2 separate regions of the Homo sapiens genome follow, and region 1 is linked to region 2. Evidence: promoter capture Hi-C in human tissues and cell types (Jung and others, 2019). All regions are on one chromosome and are shown on one strand. Each heading gives the region's core, a stretch centred on a gene start or on the middle of the fragment in contact. The rest is flanking DNA. Distances are from core to core; before and after follow the strand shown. Region 1 overlaps RNF185 (ring finger protein 185). Region 2 holds the start of PLA2G3 (phospholipase A2 group III).

Region 1 (4,487 bases), core at 1,188-3,687, 37 kb after region 2:
ACAAACAAAAAACTAGCTGGATGTGGTGGCGCACAGCTGTAATCCCAGCTACTCAGGAGGCTGATGCAGGAGAATTGCTTGAACCCGGTAGGTGGAGGTTGCAGTGAGCCGAGATCACGCCATTGCACTCCATCCTGGGCAACAAGAGTGAAACTGTCTCAAAAAAAAAAAAAAGCCATATATCATCTTTTGGAAAACATACATGTCATTGTCAAGGACTTAGGGAAACAAATGTCTTATGTATTTCTCATAGGAATATAAATTGGCACATCTTCCCTGGGGGTATTCAGCACTGTCTCAAAGTTACAAATATAAATACTTTGACCCTGCAGTTCTACTTCTAGGGTTTATACTAATAATATAGTCAAGCAGTCTTGAAGGTAGAAAACAGGGCTGTTGGGTTCCAGGGATAGGGAGAGACTTTTCAGCCTATATCCTTTTGTTGTACCTATTGAATTTTGAGCCATGTAAACGTGTTACTTATTAAAAAAATAAATTCATAAAATTAAAATTGTTAAAATTTCTGAGATGATTATTATTCTAAGGACCATTCACACCTCAGTTGTGAATGTACTTAATTCAGATTGGTTTCCTTTTTGTTCTCTACTGAGATCTGAAGGTATTGGACCTTTCACATCTTTTATTTTGTAATTTGAGATGGGAGCTCTCTGTGTTGACCAGGCTGGTCTCGAACTCCTGGCCTCAACCAATCCTCCCATCTTGGCCTCCCAAAGTGCTAGGATTACAGATGTGAGCCACCATGCTTGGCCTATTTTCTCCTGAGTATTAACAGAGTACTCACTATGGAAAAGGTGGCAAGTACATGTAAGTATTTTTTAAAGCTTAAGAAATTTGTCCATAAGTCCACTGTCCGGAGACTACTACAGTTAATATTTTTGACCTCTTTTTTTGGTATCTTTTTAACCTGCTGATAACAAATAAATTCAATTTTTTTTTTTTTTGAGACAGAATCTCGCTCTGTCGCCCAGGCTGGAGTGCAGTGGGCTCGCTGCAGCCTCTCCCTCCCAGGTTCAAGCAATTCTCCTGTGTCAGACTCCCAGCTGCTCCAAATCCTGGGCTCAAGCAATCTTCCTGCCTCAGCCTCCCAAAGTGCTAGGAATGCAGGTATGACCCACCGCACCTGGCCACATATATATTCAACTTTGTATACAATTTTACATCCTGCTTTTTTCTTTTTCTTTTTTTTTTTTTTTTAGACAGAGTCTTGCTCTGTCACCCAGGCTGGAGTGTAGTGGTGCGATCTCAGCTCACTGTAAGCTCCGCCTCCCAGGTTCACACCATTCTCCTGCCTCAGCCTCCCGAGTTGCTGGGACTACAGGTGCCCGCCACCATGCCCGGCTAATTTTTTGTATTTTTAGTAGAGACGGGGTTTCACCGTGTTAGCCAGGATGGTCTCGATCTCCTGACCTCGTGATCCGCCTGCCTCAGCCTCCCAAACTGCTGAGATTGCAGGCGTGAGCCACCGTGTCCAGCCCATCCTGTTTTTTTCACTTAACATTATGTCATGTAATTGAAATTCCTACGTAAGCAAAATCTCTGTGGAAGCATTATTTTTAGTGGCTGTGTAATCTATTATGTGGACGTACCAGTTTATTTAACCAGGTAATGGGAGCTAGTTGGGGAGAAAAAGAGACGTTAAAATCATGGAGCCCTTTGGAAGGTTAGGCAGATCTGGGTTAGGTACCCTATAGGGTATGTGAGCCAGGCAGGCCAGGGCTGAAGGGCACTGAGAGTCAAAGGCTTTTCTTCTTCCCTTAGTCCCAGCCCTTGCTGCCTTACCATGAATTATGCACTTGTTCCTTGTACTGTGTCTACATCCTCCCCAGCATTCCCTGTCTTCAGGTACTATGTACACACTTCTGTCAGTTCCCAGTACACTGGGTTGCCTTGTTGGTTCACTTGTCTGTGTCTCCCTTTAGACTGAAAAAAAAGTTTTATTTCTGTATCTTGAATGCCTGGCAAATAATAGGATCTTTAATGAATCTTTGAAGATTCATTCCTATCTACTAAGTAGATAGGAAGATTAGAGGGAACCAGAGAAAAGGACCAGTGCAGCCCCAATGAAAAGAAGCCAGTCCTTTCAGCCTTCTCTGTTCTTCTGATCCTGTATTTGAGGGCCAAATCTCCATGGGCTAGCCTAGGAACCTAAACACCACTTAGACTTTAAAATTTCAAAGCTGGTTTATGTGTTTCCAAGTTCCAATAAACTTATTCAGAGTTCTTCCCATTCCAGCCTTCTATGAGTGTGATGTAGACATTCTTGGAATGCAGGTCCCATTTCTGCCTACGTGTGGTCCAGCAGCAGTCTAATGAGCAGCGTAGACAGGCTCAGGCATGCCAGGGTTCCTGGCAGAAAGCTTCTGTGTGAATAAGCATGTGCTCACAGAAATGAGACCTCTGCTGGGATCATGCCTGTTATTTATCACCCAAATTCATAGTCTTCATATCTAAGATTAACATTTCTAGGTGTCTCACTACACCCTGGTCTAGAAATTCTTGGAGTTAAAGGGACAGAAAAGGCAGATGATGAATTCCTACAGTTCTCTAGAACTTGATAATTGAATTTAAGAATGCTACAGAGAAATTTCCTCATGAGATCAAGTTCCCTGGTGGTTCCTGCAGGGATATTCAACTCTCGTGTTCTCTTTCTTGCTCAATTCCTGTGAGGTGGGCCAGACCAAGTAGACCAAAGGCCAGCTCTGGGAAGGTAATATATTGAAGATACTGGGTCAGTCAACTTCAGCCGCCAGGCTCTGTGTTCCTACAGGATCATTAAGTATTGCAAATCCGCGTTAGTCCCAGCACCACATGTGTTGCCCTGGACATCTCAAAGTTAGGACTGTTTTTTAAAACTAGGTGTGAACTTATTTCTTAAAATGATCAGCTGTGTTCCAGTTGGACTAAATGCTGATTAATCTGAATTCAGCAGATTTGTCCCTTACCCCCCAAGTTTATCTGACCTCTCTGTAGTCCCTGTGGATTGTAGCTGGATAGGCCCTGAGGTTTCTGTCCTTCTAAAATACTGTATTTTGTTGGTATTGCTTTGTGCTATTGATAGAGCTGTACCCTCTTCTAGAGCTGGGTTTCCAAAACTCTGTTAATTAGAGAATCATCTAGGGTAGAAAGTGAGGGCTACATTAAAAGCATACAGATTCTTAGGCCTGATCTAGGTCCAGATCCTATTTAAATCTCTGAAGGGATCTGGGAACCAGATCTTTCGTGGGGTGAGAGGATGCTTTGTTTAAGAAAAACAGGCAAAAACAACAACGAAAGGAAAAACAGGTGAGTTTGATGGAGCCCCTTGTTTAGAATTCTTAAAATTAATCTATGTGCCTTCAGCTCCTGTACTAGACTCCAAGACCTCAACTTGGTCTTATTCCTCTTTGTAACTCCTCCACAGTTGGTAGCACCAGACCTCAAATGTAATTGGCATTGGAAAACTGCTGGTTGGTTGAATGAATAAGTGGATGAGTGATTAATTTACTCTGTACTCATTTCAAACAGCACAAAAGTTACAACATTGCACGATAAATTTGAGGGAAGACAAAAACCAGGTATTTAATTTTGTAAAGCAGCATGTTAATAGAAAAACATAAGAATGAAGAGAGTGCTGAATATTGTGTTAGGAAGTCTGAATTTGGCATTGCGTGGTGTCCTGGCCTTAGGCAGTCCTCTAATGTCCCTGGCCCAGTGTCCTCATCTGTAAAATGGCATGAGGATAAAATGCAGCGATAGATGTGAAATGCTTTGAAAACTAGAGAGTGGATTCTGGTCAGGAGAAAAGAATGGTCAGGGTAGGGACAGAGGCACAGAACTAGCCACAACAAGGTTGCTCTGTGGTTAGGTGAAAGTCTATAGCTTCTACAGGGACCATGAGAAATTTTAGCAGGATGGCCATATAGGTATGCTCAGGACCTGATTCTCTTTCTGCCTAGTTCCTGAGCCGATCAGGAACCTCTATGTTTTGGGCCACTGTCCCAGTCCTGGTAGACCCATATGGTTCTGTAGGTGCTCAGTAGACAATCCCCAGGGGAAGCTGCTGATTTCTGCCATGCCACCTTGGTGTACTGAGATTCCTGTGCATAGGTGTAGGAGAAGGTGAGAAGAGGTGGCTCCAGGGATGAGTATGCAGCTGTGGGGCCCAGAATATGTTACAAAGAAAAGTTGGTGACCAGCCAGCTGGGAGTTGACCAAAGTCAGTCATGCGTGCCCATCCTCACTCAGCAAATATTTGAGTGCCTGCTAGGATGAGGCTGTAGATCCTGGGTGGGGACCATGTGGTGTCTACTAAGATTTACAAGGAGAGTGATATGGCCTGCCTACAGTTGGGACATGCAGGCCTGTCTCAGTGCCTGGCCTGGCACAAGGCTGCCACTCCCTGCAAACTCTGAGCTGACCTGTTACTGTCCCTTAACCATTCCTACTCCAACACCTACCTTGATCCTGGTTGTCCCCTCATGCCTGTG
Region 2 (4,786 bases), core at 1,778-4,277:
ACATCATTGGCTGAGATAAAGAGGAGTGGTGGTGGGTGCACAGTGGGGCCTGATGTGGTCAAATTCGTGGATTATGAAAATCCTGTGCTGCAGTGTGATTTCATGGGAGAGGTTGGGAAATCCCAGGAGGAAACTGGTGCAGGAAAAGAGGCAACACATGGCCACCCCTAAACAGAAGCAGGGACACCCCCTCATGTCAGGAACCCCCAAGGTTAGGTTCTGAGCTCACCCTGAGGTTTTAGGCCACCCTGTGGGCCCTGGAGGCCTGTGGGGGCCACATCAAGCCTGGGAGAGACCATAGGGTCCTGGAGGGCTGTGGTGTTGGCTTTGCTGGGGCGCTTGGACCCTTTCTGATGTGGTGGCCCCTTCCGAAGGTGCTGCTTCTGTCGAGGCTTGGGAGGGGCTGGGCTCCGGGAGCTGGGAGTTGGGGAGGTGGCCCGGGAGCTCCAGGAGGCATTGTAGAAGGTCCTGGGCTGCAGGCGAGCGAGGGGCACTGTGCCGTACATCCTACACCTGGGTGGTGGCAGTTGGTGGAAATTGGTGACTGGGAATCCCCCTTCCAGAAGCCCCCAGGGTCGTCTCCATGGAGATCAATGCTCTGCCAGTCCCATCCCCCATCCCGCTGGGTTGTGGGGGACACCCAAGGAGGGTCTGCATCCCGGGCCCTCAGGAGAGGACATGCAGGATGGGACATCATTCCCTGGAAGACAGACAGACAGATAGCTCTCCCTCACCAGGCTTGGAGCCTGGGCTCCCTCTCTGTCTGGAAAGGGACATGAGGGGGTGGCCACGTACCCGCCCCACCAGTACCACGCCACACACGCCTCCTGCTCCTCCAGCACAAAGCAGGGGATCTCCAGCACGTTGAAGAAGGCCACGCCCACGATGTCCGAGATGGAGTCGTGCTGATTCTGTAGGCATTGCTGAAACCTGCCCCAGAACAGATACCCAGGACCCTGGGGCATGGAGGGCTGTCTGGCTCCTCCCACAGCCCACTGTGCCACTACCAGCTGGGTGGTTTGGGGTCCAAGCATCCCTTCTTTCTGGCCTCAGCTTTCCTACCTGCACTGTGGGGTCCAAGCTGGCTGAGCTTTAAGATCCTCTGCAATCCCAATGTCTAGTTACCCAGGAACTGGGTAACTCTGCCCTGTCCCTGAGCTCTGGGCCCTCGCTGCCTGCCACCAACCTGGTGTCACAGTCACAGTGGGAGATGGTGTGGAATCGGTAGTTTCGGATGCCATAGTTGTACTGCAAGGGTGAGATGTTCTGTGGGCAGCGGTCATGTTCCCGGCAACAGAGATCAGGTCCCTGGAAGACCCCTGCAGGGAGGGGAGGGGAGAGGGCACCAACTCAGCAGGGTCCTAGGCATCATGCACCAGCTATGCCCCCCTGGTAGGAAGAGGGCAGAGACCTGGTTCTCACCCCAGCCCTGACACAAACGCCATGAGGGTCCTCAGACCAGTCACTCTCCCTTCTGTGGGACTCTCAGAGTTTCAAAGCTGGAAAAGAGAAGCCAAGCTGCAGCCTCTGTTGGGCAACTCTAAATGCCAGGTAGCCCACCCATAAATACATGGAAAGGTCTTCCTCAGGGGAATTGGAGTCTGCCTCCAGAGTTCCCAAGCCCACGCCCCAAATAAAACTCCAAAATTATGAATGTGTGTATGATGGAATGGCAAACAGGCAGGGTGCAACCTTTCTCACTGGCACAAGGAGGTGTCGCCAGGATGCCAACCTACTCTGACTCAGGTGCCAAGCCCTCCCCCAACCCTGCACACAAACGCACAGACATCTGTACTGATAGTGCAAGAAATTCATCTATGTTTATTACCATCTAAAAAATAGCACTCTTTACTAAGCATTTCCCACATGCCTGGCACTTCCCACATCCAGGTTCACAGCCAGCCCTGAAAGGGAGGTATCACCTTCATTTTACAGGTGAGGAAATAAGTCCAGAGAGGGGAAGTGACTTGCTCAGCTTGTATGTGCTGAGTTGGGATTTGAACCCAGGCCTTTCGTCTCAGCATCCATTCCACTGGGCACCCCGTGCCCACAAAGCCTCCTCCTGGGTAATGGCTTTTTGGCTCAGTTGACCCTGGATCCTCCCCCAGCCTGCCCAGTCCCTCGGATGGCATTTAATGAGGACTCCCAGGTTTGAATAAGACTTTCCCCAACCGTGACCTCATTTAAGCACCCCATGATGAGATTCGTGATTGCCCCCACTTTACAGATAAGGAAATTGAGGTTCACCATGGTCAAGTCACTCCCCCAGGGACACACAGCCTAGGAGAGTAAGGGCTGGGGCTGAAGAAACCTTGCTTCCCCGATCGGACCCCCCAGCCCACACACCCCTCATGGCTCACCCAGCTCCGAGGAGTTCCCAGCAGAATCTCCAACTCCACACCACAGTGTGCCAGGCATGGTCCATCCTCTCTTCTCTCGCTGGTGCCCTCCACCAGGGACTCCACTCTGCCCTGCTGCTCGCTTCTTCCTGGCCCCTGCTGGACTCTCCTCAAGCGCTCGGCATGCCTCCCACTGACTCTGAAGAGTGGCCAGTGCTCTCTGCAGCTCGGGTCCGGGGGTGTGGATGAAGGAGCCCCAGGCAGTCTCATGAGCACAGAGAGCACCGTAGGCTGCGGTGAGCTCCGGCTCATCCTCCCAGCTACATGACTGCAGCCTCCTATGCGCATCCCAGCGGGCATGGATCAGGGCCAGTCCCTGAGCATCCTTGGCCAGGAAGCTCAGGTACCCCAGTGGGTTGCCAGGGACGGCCTTGGTCAAGTGGCAGGAGGTCCTGTACCAGCGGAGGGCAGGGGAGCCCCCCAGGGCCACCCCCAGGAAGCCCAGCATCCCAAACAGCCCTGCCTGAACCCCCATTCTGCACTGGCCCAGTCCAGTCAGACAAAGCCCCTGGGATGCCTGCCCTTGGTGGCCCCACCAGGCGGCAGCTGAGCAGTGGAACGGAAGCGGAGCCCAGCAGGCCCGGTGCGGCGGGACCAATGAATGGAGCTGCGGGAGGAGGAGGAAAGAGGCTGGAGTATGGGGTGATCTTGGGCTTGTAACCGAATCCACCAGCCGGGCAGGACGCTGATTGGCTGAGGAGTGCACTTGCCAGGGCCCACGCCCCCATTCTGCCTGCCTTCTCAGCACCATCCAGTCACCTGCTGCCAGCCCTGCCTAGATTGGGACTATGGGAGCCAAAGCCCTAAGCTGTGGGATGGGGACCAGGCTGGGGCTTTCACATCTCCTTGAAGGGAAGGAAAAGGGTTCAGGAGCTTGGAGGAGTCCCTTAGAACCCACCCTTCTCACCCTTACCACAGCGGTGGCTGCCACATCCACCTCCATCAGGCTGGCAGGGGGCCATGGGCCTCTGCCAGGGCTGGGTGAAGGAAGGGCTGGGGCTCTGAAGCTACCACCCTGGGAGTTCCCAAGGCTTCTGGGAAAGGGAGTGCCACCTGGGGTGCTCCCCTGCCAAGTCCTGGTTCTTAGAAAGGCTCTCGGCATACTCAGGGGACAGAGCCCCAGGGCTCCCCGCTTCCTAGGACTCCAAGCATGGGCCTGGCCTTGCAGCAACCCTCCTGGTCTGATAACTGGGGGAGACGCAGCGGGAACAGGCCTTGAGAGCCACACAGGGCAGGGCTGATGCTCTGGATTTGAAAGAACTATGGTCCCTAGAGTGGCAGAGAGTGGCCCAGGGTGTATGTCTGTGGCCACCTCCATCCCTGGCCACCTGGGGGGACACAGCAGGCATCATGTGTGCCTCATGAGACAGGAATCTCTCCATCAGGAAGGGGCTATACCCAGGTATTGTTCCTGGATCCCAAAGCCCAGCTTCCAACCATCTAGTGAGGCCAGGGTGCTTACACCCATAGTGCAGATGAAGAAACTGAGGCTCAGTGAGGGTGGGAAAACCTCAGGTGACAGGCTCCAGCTGGGGAGGGCTTAGAGGATGGGAATGCAGCGCTTGGGGATCTGGATGGGAGTCAGGGCTGGCCAGGACAGTGACTTGTCTGTCTTCCATCTGCCCATTAGCCTGCTGCTTCTCCAGCCTCCCCCTGCCCCAGGCTCCATCTGAGTCTCTTCCAGGGGATGAGCCCCAGTGAGGTAAAGCCAGGGGCAGAGCTGGGGAAGGAGAGCTCACTGTGTGGCAGAGGGGGAAGGGGGCTGCAGGGTGGGCAGGTCCATCTCTGTAGCTTCAGAACCAGCCTGGGCCTGTGGCTCAAAGCATCATAGCTGGGAACAATGAAGAGAAGGGAAAGAGGGTAGGGCTAGTCCAGGGACCAAGCGCCTTCTTGCCAGAGGTTGAGAAAGGGGGTGTGGAATACAGCGAGTGGTGGCAGAGGAGGTAGACCTGGGGTCCCCAAGGGCAAGGATGTAGCTGAACAAAGGTGAGTCCTTCTGTGAAGAGTTGTGATGTTTGAAAAATCATCATGCTGAGACTTCCTCCCATCATAGGAACTGCCACCCACCTCTGCCCCCTTTTCCACATTGCTGAGCCCTTCCCTGCCCATCACCTGGGGAGGCTGGGAGGTAGGATACGAGGAGCCAAGCTTTCGAGGTCAGACAGGTCCAGCTTAGGTTTCCACACAGACCCTAGGCTTGGAAATCTTAACTTCTCTGAGTCTTAGTTTCCTCATCTGTATCATGGGCATAATCACAGTAGTCACTCCACAGGATGTTGGGTAAGATTCCCAGCACAGTTCCTGGCACCCAAAACACCATCACTAAAGCCTCAGGATACCCCTGGCCAGGAAGCAGTTTACTCAGGAGAAAGCAAGTCCCAAGATTT

Evidence for each region. The method cuts DNA at HindIII sites, captures the fragments that hold promoters and counts their contacts. A contact is called where the count stands out against the background at its distance.
Region 1: a contact is called between a fragment that was not itself captured here and the fragment with the promoter of PLA2G3 in region 2, in 1 of the 25 tissues and cell types used here (bladder).

The regions. Positions count from the first base shown.
Region 1 is chr22:31,175,293-31,179,779 of GRCh38, forward strand. The region is part of intron 1 of RNF185 (ring finger protein 185); the gene reads left to right. Among named protein-coding and RNA genes, the nearest start is that of RNF185, 17 kb to the left of the region's middle. The HindIII fragment of the contact is 4,593 bases long and covers 142-4,487 here.
Region 2 is chr22:31,137,481-31,142,266 of GRCh38, forward strand. PLA2G3 (phospholipase A2 group III) reads right to left here and starts at 3,028. Exons shown (of 7, transcript NM_015715.5): 1 at 2,361-3,028; 2 at 1,187-1,319; 3 at 796-930; 4 at 230-513. The coding sequence starts at 2,874. RefSeq lists enhancers at 314-814, 2,532-3,090, 3,091-3,650. The HindIII fragment of the contact is 19,816 bases long and covers 1-4,786 here.